2 separate regions of the Homo sapiens genome follow, and region 2 is linked to region 1. Evidence: promoter capture Hi-C in human tissues and cell types (Jung and others, 2019). All regions are on one chromosome and are shown on one strand. The core of a region is centred on a gene start or on the middle of the fragment in contact, and the rest is flanking DNA. Distances in the headings are between cores, read along the strand shown. Region 1 holds the start of NTN4 (netrin 4). Region 2 has its middle 14 kb from the start of METAP2.

Region 1 (4,850 bases), core at 343-2,842:
AAAAACAGAAATGGATTAGTTCTGCCTAAATATACTAGACTCAGAAGTTAATAATAAATGTGCATCCACCCCTTTGTTTAATTTGCCTTGGCTATTAAGTTAACATTTATGCTAAGAACCTTTGGCTGTTATAGTTTCCTATCATTTATTTGGTAAAAAGATTAATTGGAGAGGTGTTTCAATGGCTCCATTAGGAGATATGAAGAAAGCCCCACCATTGCCAGTATTTGGGAACTCAAAGCGTTTATTTTCTAAAGCAGGTGATGCTACATGAATTGCTGTCCACACCTTCTGCTACTTTCCTCTGTTGGCCAGAAGAATAATTTTAATGTCGCCCAAATGGATTATGCTGACCTCAACCCAGATCCCCCTGGGAGATATAAACTTCTTATATGTTCCTGGCTGGGTCATTGTAAATAATATCTACATGTATCCCAAAGCTCTGAATTATCCTCATCTGTAACAGACACAACGACTAAATGGTATCTGGAACGTAGTTAATTTTCTGGAAAATATTCAAAGGAACAAAATGAGCACTGCAATACAAAATTGCTGTCGACTTAACTTTTGCCAGTTTCCCTGGATGTGTAAGTAGAATTATATTTTCACAGAACTTGCAAAAATCTCAGACTCGGCTGCTATTTAATCTCTTTCCAGAAGCACCAGCCCTGAGCAATCCTATCTGCAATTAGCTGCGTGTGGTTGCTACTAAATTGCTCCCCATAAGTTAGTTCCTAACACTGTTTCACAGCACGGCATACTCTATAAAGGGAGAACGCTTGGAAGGACCGAAGAGTTCCCTTTGTCGTGCCCTTGCCCTGCCTCTGGACAACGATGTTCTTACACTGCCGACTAGCTAATCCTGTGACCCTTTTCTTTCAGCACCTTGAGTTTGAGTTAGGCAATACCTCTTACACCAAAGTGGGCACACCTTCGGATCATGTAGGCAGCGATTGTTTAGCCGAGACATCCCCCTACCCCCGCAAAAGGCAGCAGAGAAGCGGCGAACGCCGCTTAGCAGTTGGCGCGCTCTCAGTGCGGGTGACGCGGGGCTGGGTTGGGGTGTTCCGTCCCCGGGTCGTGGGACTCCCCGAGAGGGGGTGGCTGGAGGAGGAGGGAGGGCTTGTTTCGCTGGGGGATGTGGGAAGTAGGCGCTAGCCTGTTTCGCGGTTTTTTAAGCCCCTTGGCATGCCCTGACCTGATCTAGAGGGAGTCTACTGCTCTTAGGAATGTTCCGGGAGAAGGTGGGAGATTGCTTCCCAGGGGAGGCCTGTGGGTGCTGCAGGGCACCAGGGGGGTCACTAGGGAGATGCAGGGCGCGGGCCAGGAGGGGCGCCAGGGCAGCCGGGGGCCAGGCTGAGGCGACCGGGACCAGCGGGCAGCCGGGCGTCGGGGGCGTCGGTCGGGGCGCGGGGGACCCCCCCCCCGGGCGGCAGCGGCAGCGGCGATCCGATCCCGCGGGCTGCGCCGCCCGGGCTGTCAAGCGCGGGGGGCGGGCGGGAGGAAGGGGTGGAGGTGCGAGGGGAGGAGGGCTGGCACCGGAGCGCCGCGGCGTCGGTGCAATAAAAATGCATCGCATGGAACTGCCCGTGGAGAAGGACGGGACGGAGCCGGGGCAGCCAGAAGAGGTGGGAAAAGCGGAGGAGGACGCCCAGGAGGAGGCGGCGGCGGCGGCCGGGAAGTGAAAGGTCTCGCAAAGTTCAGCGGCGGCTGCGGGCGCCGAGCCCCGGGCTAGCGGCAGACGAGCCCGCAGGGCCGCTCCGCGGGGCAGCGCAGCCAGGCCGGCTATGGTCCCGGGGCTCCCGCCGCCCCCCAGGTGCCCGGGACCCGCCAGGCCGGTGCGCGAGGGTCACCCCACCTCCCCGCGCGGTCCCGGCCCCTGGCTCCCAGCTGCCGGCGACCGCTGACCGAGCCCGGCGCCCCAGGAGGAGGAAGAAACCAGGGCCCCGTTCCCTCCCGAGGACGGCGGCGCTTCATCCCGCAGCCCAGAGGTCTCGGCTCCCTCCGGCACCCGCCCGGCCCGGCTGCTCCCGGCTCCTCCCGGCCATGGGGAGCTGCGCGCGGCTGCTGCTGCTCTGGGGCTGCACGGTGGTGGCCGCAGGTGGGTGGTGACGCGGCGGGGCCCCCACCCCTTCCCTCGCTGCTTCTCTAACCCATCTCGGGACTCGGGGGTGCAGGGGAGCCAGGGCTGCGAGCGCAGAGCGCTGCTCCCGAGGGTGAAATGAGTGGCCATGTTCCGCCTCCTTTCCCCGGGGCTCCGCAGTTTCAAATACTATTGATTTATTTTTACAACTGGGATACACATGCGCTTGGATAACCAGCTATCCTGGGTGCGCCCTGCCGGGGATACTGCGACCGGGGTTTCTTTCTTGGTTTGGCTTGTTAAAAAACTGCTTTTCCACTTGGTGAGGGAACAAAGGACCCAGCTCGCCATCCCCCGGCACTTCATGGCCTAAGGAATGATGAGGAGGGGTGGCCCAGCGACCCTGGGCGCGCGTGGGCTGGGGCCGGTCTCTGGTAGAAGCCCATCGCTGGTGTCCCTGACCTGGTGCTGGGTACTAGAGAACCAGGTAAGGACACCTGGGGCAGGGCTGAGCGCCCTCTCCCCGGAGCAGTGACTGGAACGCAGTGGGACTCCTGGCTTGGACGATAGGTGGTGATCACCCCGGGCTTGCATTGAGCTGGCTGGCCGCCCCTGGGGAATTGGTACCCTGGCAGAGACTCTGCGGGAGGTCGGAGGCGGGTCTGCTCCCTGGCTCGGTAACTGGACAACCGGCGTCGGCGTCGGCAGATGCCCTCTCCCTCCCACTCCCATCCTGGCTTTCTTGGGCTGCCCTAGGCCACCGGCTCCTGGCTCGTGGTTTCTGTATTCGGGAGCCCCTTCTGCTCCTCTCCCTCCCTCTTGCGGGTCACCTGGTTTCCAGTTAGGCGTAAGCGCAGCCCTGTAGGTGAGGGGGAGAGATGTGAGGGAGTCTGCAGACATCCAGTCTCTCGTGCGGATCTTGACTGCTTCAGAAAGGGGCGCCTGGGCTAGAGGGATGCGCTGGTGGCTACAGAACATTGTAGCACGCATCTCCTCCCTTGGGCTTCCACTCTTCCCTGAGGGCCGCTGGCACCCAGCAAAATCCAGGCTTTCCAGTCTGCATCCCAAACCAGTCCAAGTCACAGGAGCATCCTTAGTATCATTGAATAGTCCCTTGAGTGACTCCAAGTATTTTGCCCCATGGATTCTTTATCTGGCTCAAATCTTTTCTGGACTTAGGAGTTTAGGGGCATTTAAAATTATTGGATATTTTTCCCAGGGACCTATTAAAGGCCTAAGATTTTACTTTAATTCTTGCACTCTTAAAATATGAGCTTTAAAAAAAACCTTTTCCTTCTCAAACCATATTATGGCAAAAACATGCAAGCCATTGAAAGGTTGTAAATAAACATCACAAGGCAAGTGTTTCAAGTCAAAAATACTTGTACAGGCAGTATATGATTTTCCTTGAAATTTTTTACAGGTGAGTCATAGCACATTGTGTGTTTGTGTGCTTCTGGCCACAAGCAACTGTTGCCCCAGCTAATGAGAAAAGTGGCAAACAGAACCCAGGCATAATGCACACTTTAATTTGACATTTAAAAAATAATGCCTAAGGAAGCCCTTTAGTTGCAAGGCTTCGTGGGGTTGGCCATTGTCAGTGTGTGAAATGTCTCTGTTGCAGCCTAAGCTGTCATTTGGCCTCCTCCAATCCTTACTATGACAACAGTTCAGAGGTACTGCTTCTTAAGCAGCAGAAACATTCAATTAGCCAGAATTTAAGGGTTGATTTCCTTTTCCCTCTTTCCCCCTCTGTTTTAACCTTTAAAATAGATGATTTTTGCTTAAGGTATTCACAATTAAAATGACAAACGCAAATCAAAGGATTATAGTATGTACTCAGAATGTTAATAAGTGGATAATGTTTATCATTTTAAGTCATTTTAAAACATTAAAGTCTGTTGGACCTTTGGGAGGAAAAGTGTGTTTTTTAAAGAAGGTCTTGTAGTTCACAGATAATATTTAAAGGTGCTGTTAGTGGCTGCCAGACTGTAGACACTCTCCTGTTAAGCAAACAGTTAACTACTCTATAACCTGTCACAGGTAGAAACCCTGAAGAGACAGCATGTAAAATAAGCTTTTCTGCCATTTGGCAGTTCAGAGAGTTTTTTTCTTAGTTATGTTTATGTAATGTTAGAAACTGATAGTGCACATCTGAACTCCAAAGGTCTCTAGCTTTGCCTCCCTCTAAATGAGGACCCATTGTATATTTATTAAATATCTCATATTGCTTTTCCTAGGGAATTTATCCCTTCCCTGGCTTAAAAATATAAAGAAAATAGAATTCCACATTTCCTTCTAAATACATTCTCATAATAAACATGTTAAATCATGTGAAGGACTCACATTAAATTTGAAAGACTAACTTAGGTGGTCTTAAAAACATTATGGTTTTTCAATAGTCATGACTTCAAAAACACATCAATGTATTTGAAATACAGAAAACATTTATAAGGCAAAGTACTTGAAAAGTTTTAGGCCAATAATCTTCACCCTGGTGGTTCTATTTTCCCTCCTCTTGCCCTCTGCCTAAAGTGTTTGTTTCTGTGATGTGAATTTTACATCTGAACATGAAAAGCAAATACACACACACACGCACACACACACGCATACACGAATGCATTGTGAATGCAGAACAGTGTTCATGCTCAAACAGGAACATGGTGGAGCATGGTAGAATTTGCCATTTATCGAAAGTCTCAAGCGCTTTTGGGGAGATCCTTGACTGTTGTTGATGGACTAGGTGGCCAAAAGAGCTTTCCAGATG
Region 2 (5,168 bases), core at 715-3,214, 330 kb after region 1:
AAAATCACATGAAGGTAAGGAGAGAAAATGTTTCATGAAATAGTTTGATCACCTATGTCAGCTGTTGTAGAAAGATCAAGTAGTACAAAGTCTCACAATAGACTGTTGACTTCAGATAGAGCAATTTTGTTAGGGGGCATCAAAACAGGCTACGTAGGAGAGATTGTGATGTACTTTCCTGGACACCAACTCAAGGGACAAAGTGTGAAAGTTGTCAGAATCATAATGGAGTCACTTGTGTTAAAAACCCTTACAAGGCCGGGGATAGTGGTGCACATCTGTAATCCCAGCACTTTGGGAGGCCAAGGCTGGCATAACATTTGAGTCCAGGAGAGTCCAGGAGTTCAAGACCAGCCTAGGTAGCATGGTGAAACCCTATCTGTACAAAACATACAAAAATTAGCTGGCATGGTGGCCCATGCCTGTAGTCTCAGCTACTTGGGAGGCTGAGGAGGATGGTTTGAGCCTAGGAAGTGAAAGCTACAATGAGCTATGATCGTGCCACTGCACTTCAGCCTTGGGGACAAAGTAAGACTCTGTCTCAAAAAAAAAAAAAGCCAAACAACAAAACCCTGAAAAATAGAGCCTCAGAAAGCCATGAAGGGAGGATTCTCATGCCCAAAGTCTGATAACAAGAATTACGGTAAAAGACTGCAAAAATGACAGCCTTGCACAAAGGCCATAGCAATCTTGCAAAACTAAACAAAACAAAACATTTCTGTGAGGACACCTGCCCAGCAACTGCTTGTCCATACTCTGACTGGCTCCACCCTCGTTATTGATCCTTTTAGCCAGTGATCCTCCTCATTTTTCCTTTAAAAAACTTGTCTTCCTAGGCCGGGCACAGTGGCTTACACCTTAATCCCAGCACTTTGAGAGGCCGAGGCAGATGGATCACCTGAGGTCAGGAGTTCAAGACCAGCCTGGCCAACATGGTGAAACCCCCGTCTCTACTAAAAATACAAAAAATAGGTGGGTGTGGTGGTGGGCACCTGTAATCCCAGCTTCTCGGGAGGCTGAGACAGGAGATTTGCTTGAACCCCAGAGGTGAAGTTTGCAGTGAGCTGAGATCGTGCCATTGCACTCCAGCCTGGGCAACAGAGCAAGACTCCGTGTCAAATAATAATAATAATAAAATAAAAAGCTTGTCTTCTTTTACTTCCTTGAAATACACATTCTTTCTCAATCATAGTTGTATCCAATAACATCCTAAATTACTTACTTTTTTTTCTTTTCCATTCAAGGTGACAGAAGTGGAACTAAATTACTTATTAATCTTATAATTTATCTCCTTTTGTAGTTGGAATAAAGTTAGATACCTAATAGTAGAAATTTACCTTCTGTGGTGTCCACGTATTGAGGCTTACGCTTTGGGGAAAACATATATGGTTCAAAGCAGTATTCTTTTTTTTTTTTTTTTTTTTTTAGTAGAGGCGGGGTTTCACCATGTTGGCCAGGCTTGTCTCAAACTCCTGACCTCAGGTGATCCACCCACCTTGGCCTCCCAAAGTGCTGGAATTACAGGCGTGAGTCACCGCGCCCAGCCCAAAGCAATATTCTTATGCCCAAGATGTCAGGAGTATCGTTACCCACATGAAAGTTTTCTTTTTTTTCTTTTTCTTTTTTTTTTTTTCTGAGACAAGCTCTTGCTCTGTTACCCAGGCTGAAGTGCAGTGGCACGATCTTGGCTCACTGCAGCCTCCACCTCTAGGTTTAAAGTGATCCCATGCCTCAGCCTCCCAAGTAGCTAGTAGCACAGGCATGTGCCACCACACCCAGTTAATTTTAGTATTTTTAGTAGAGACAGGGTTTCACCATGTTAGCCAGGCTAGTCTCTAACTGCTGACTTCAAGTGATCCTCCAGCCTCTGCCTCACAAGTTGCTGGGATTACAGGCATGAGCCACCACACCCAGCCCTCATGCAAATTTTCAAGTGCTTATTGGCCAGGGCTGTGTAGGATTTAATATCAAGTGTTCATGAAAGAAAGCTTAGAGCTAGATGAAATACTTTGCCTAGACTCATGGAGTCTTTCCCCGAGCAGATTTCTGGAGTTCCTTCTCTCTATTTTTTTTTTTTTTTTTTTTTTGAGACAGAATCTCACTCTATCACTCACTCTGTCACTGTAGTGCAGTGGCACAATCTTGACTCACTGCAGCCTCAGCCTCCTGGGCTCAAGCAATCTTCCCACCTCAGCCTCCTGAGTAGCTGGGATTACAGGCGCATGCCACTGCAATCGGCTACTTTTTTTTTTTTTTTTTTTGAGACGGAGTCTCACTCTGTCACCCAGGCTGGAGTACAGTGGTGTGATCTCAGCTCACTGCAACCTCCACCTCCCAGGTTCAAGCAATTCTCCGCCTTAGCCTCCTGAGTAGCTGGGATTACAGGTGCATGCTACCACACCTGGCTTATTTTCCTATTTTTAGTAGAGATGGGATTTCACTATGTTGGTCAGGTTGGTCTTGAACTCCTGACCTCAAGCAATGTGCCTACCTTGACCTGCCAAAGTTCTGGGATTACAGGTGTGAGCCACTTCACCTGGCCTGGAGTTTCTTTTCTGTGCAGCTTCTTTCTCTCTGATATGTCTCCTCAGCTCAGAGATACCACCACACAAGACAGTGTTTCCACACAAAGAGCCAGGGTGATTGTGAATCTTGCATCATTTCCCTGTCATCTGGTATCACAGTTCTGTGTTTCCTATTGGTGGATGTCTAAAAGGACTTATTTCTTTTTCCAACTTTGACAGCTGCGTATAATGGGAAGTCTTGTCCAGTATCAGTCCTTTTCCTACATCAAGGCTGAAAGTGGAAGCACTTCCACATTGCAGGCTTTCTGTCAACATCTGGTGGGCTTTGCTTGCCAGTTTTTATTTATATTTATTTATTTATTTATTTAGTGAGATGAAGCCTCACTCTGTCACCCAGGCTGCAGTGCAGTGGCACGATCTCAGCTCACTTCAACCTCTGCCTCCCGGGTTCAAGTGTTTCTCCCACCTCAGCCTCCCGAGTAGCTGGGACTACAGGTGCCCACCACCATTCCTGGCTAATTTTTCTATGTTTAGTAAAGACGGGGTTTCATCATCTTGGCCAGGCTGGTCTCAAACTCCTGACCTCAAGTGATCCACCCCTGCTTCAGCCTCCCAAAGTGCTGGGATTACAAGCATGAGTCACTACACCCAGCCCAGTTTTTTGTTTTTAAATGATGCAGTAGAAAAACTGACTGGGAACTCAGTATTTTTAGGTAGAGCTTTGTCAATTAGGAGGTTTGCTTTAGTGTGAATGGATGAAAAGCAGACCATGTACTTTGGAAAACAGACATTGTTGGATGCTTACCCAGAATTCATTTTTAGTTTTTCCCTTGCTAACATAATCCTTCTTTGGGTTCAGGTGTCCACGCTTTTCTGCCTAGCTAGGTGAACCTGTCCTTAACTCAAGGGTAAATCCTGATTTGGCTAAACTAATACATGAGAATTCCAATTCCTCTTGCCAGTGGTTTGTTTAGGCATCGGCTTGTGTTGCAATTTTGGTCAATGAAACATGGAGGGCCAGGCATGGTGGCTCACACCTGTAAACCCAGTGCTTTGGGAGGCTGAGGTGGGAGGATCTCTTGAGCTCAGGCATTCAAGACCAGCCTGGGCAATATAGCGAGACCCAGGCTCTGCAAAAAATACTTTAAAAATTAGCTGGGTAGTGGCACAAACCTGTAATCCCAGCTACTCAGGAGGCTGAGATGGGATGATCACTTGCACTCAGGAGGTAGAGGTTACAGTGAGCCAAGATTGCACCACTGCACTCCAGCCTGGGTGACAAAGCGAGACACCCTGTCTCAAAAAACAAAAACAAAAACAAAAACATGGAGGTAAAACCGTTGGGAACTTCTGGAAAAAGTGCTTCAAATTAAAAAAAGAGACCAAAATATCGTTTCTTTTCTTCTTTAGATGTTTTCAAGTCTATGAATAATCCCTGGGGATATGAAGAGCACAGGACAGAGAGGTGGAATGATGCTGGGCCCTTGATGGTGTCATTCAGCCATTGAATTGGGAAATCCTAGTCACTCTACATTCAAACATGTAAGATATCACATCTCCACATTTTTAGAATTAGAGATTTCTGATACCTATAAATAAAGTCATCCTAAGTGATGCAAACTCCAGAATACACAGGACTTGGTGCTTAAATGTGAACTTCCTTTCTAATTTCCATAATGCTTCCAGATTATTTGTTAAATTTCTTAGAAGAGAACACTCTATTTTTTTTAGCTTTGTTGCTGTTGTTGTATTTTTTCCTAGAAGATGGAGAAACACCTAAACTGCAGACATTATGCTTGTAAGAGTAGACTTGCTGACTTAATTCTTGATATAAACTTTAAGTTAATTCTTCCTTTTTAAGCCCCAGGTCCCACTCTCTGGCCTGCTTAGTGTTTCCAAGTCCTGAATTTCTCAGAGGTTTTGCAGGGCTAATTGGGTCCCTTTTCAAAGCATCTTATTCTACTGACTTCTTGGCTGTGCTTCCTCCACACTATTTCATGACTTTTCTCTCCTTCATCAAATTTCAGTCAGAACTTTTATAACTCTCATCCCCAGAAGCCCTGCTCCTGTCTTATGTGTTGTGGATTGATTTAAAAAAAAATTCCTTTAGTATCATTTTAATAAGGTCCTGGTGAGAGGTGAGGCCAGCTGGACTTCCTGGGTCGAGTGGGGACTTGGGGAACTTTCCTGTATTACAAGAGGTTTGTAAAATGCACCAATCAGCACTCTGTAAAATGCACCAATCAACGTTCTGTAAAACGCACCAATCAGTGCTCTGTAAAATGCACCAATCAGCGCTCTGTAAAATGCACCAATCAACAGGAGTCTAAAAGTAGCCAATCACGAGGAGGATTGAAAAAAGGGCACTCTGATAGGACAGAAATGGAACATGGGAGGTGACAAATAAAGGAATAAAAGCTGGCCACCCCAGCCAGCAGCAGCAACCCGCTCAGTTCCCCTTTCATGCTGTGGAAGCTTTGTCCTTTTGCTCTTCACAATAAATCTTGCTACCACTCACTGTTTGGGTCCGTGCCATCTTTAAGAGCTGTAACACTCACCGCAAAGGTCCATGGCTTCATTATTGAGGTCAGCAAGACCACGAACCCACCGGCAGGAACCAACTCCTGACATATCTTGTGGGCT

Evidence for each region. The method cuts DNA at HindIII sites, captures the fragments that hold promoters and counts their contacts. A contact is called where the count stands out against the background at its distance.
Region 2: a contact is called between a fragment that was not itself captured here and the fragment with the promoter of NTN4 in region 1, in 1 of the 25 tissues and cell types used here (hippocampus).

Annotation. Positions count from the first base shown.
Region 1 is chr12:95,787,506-95,792,355 of GRCh38, reverse strand. NTN4 (netrin 4) reads left to right here and starts at 1,592. Exons shown (of 10, transcript NM_021229.4): 1 at 1,592-2,101. The coding sequence starts at 2,047. The HindIII fragment of the contact is 9,266 bases long and covers 1-4,850 here.
Region 2 is chr12:95,457,817-95,462,984 of GRCh38, reverse strand. No RefSeq gene overlaps it. Among named protein-coding and RNA genes, the nearest start is that of METAP2, 14 kb to the left of the region's middle. The HindIII fragment of the contact is 3,060 bases long and covers 435-3,494 here.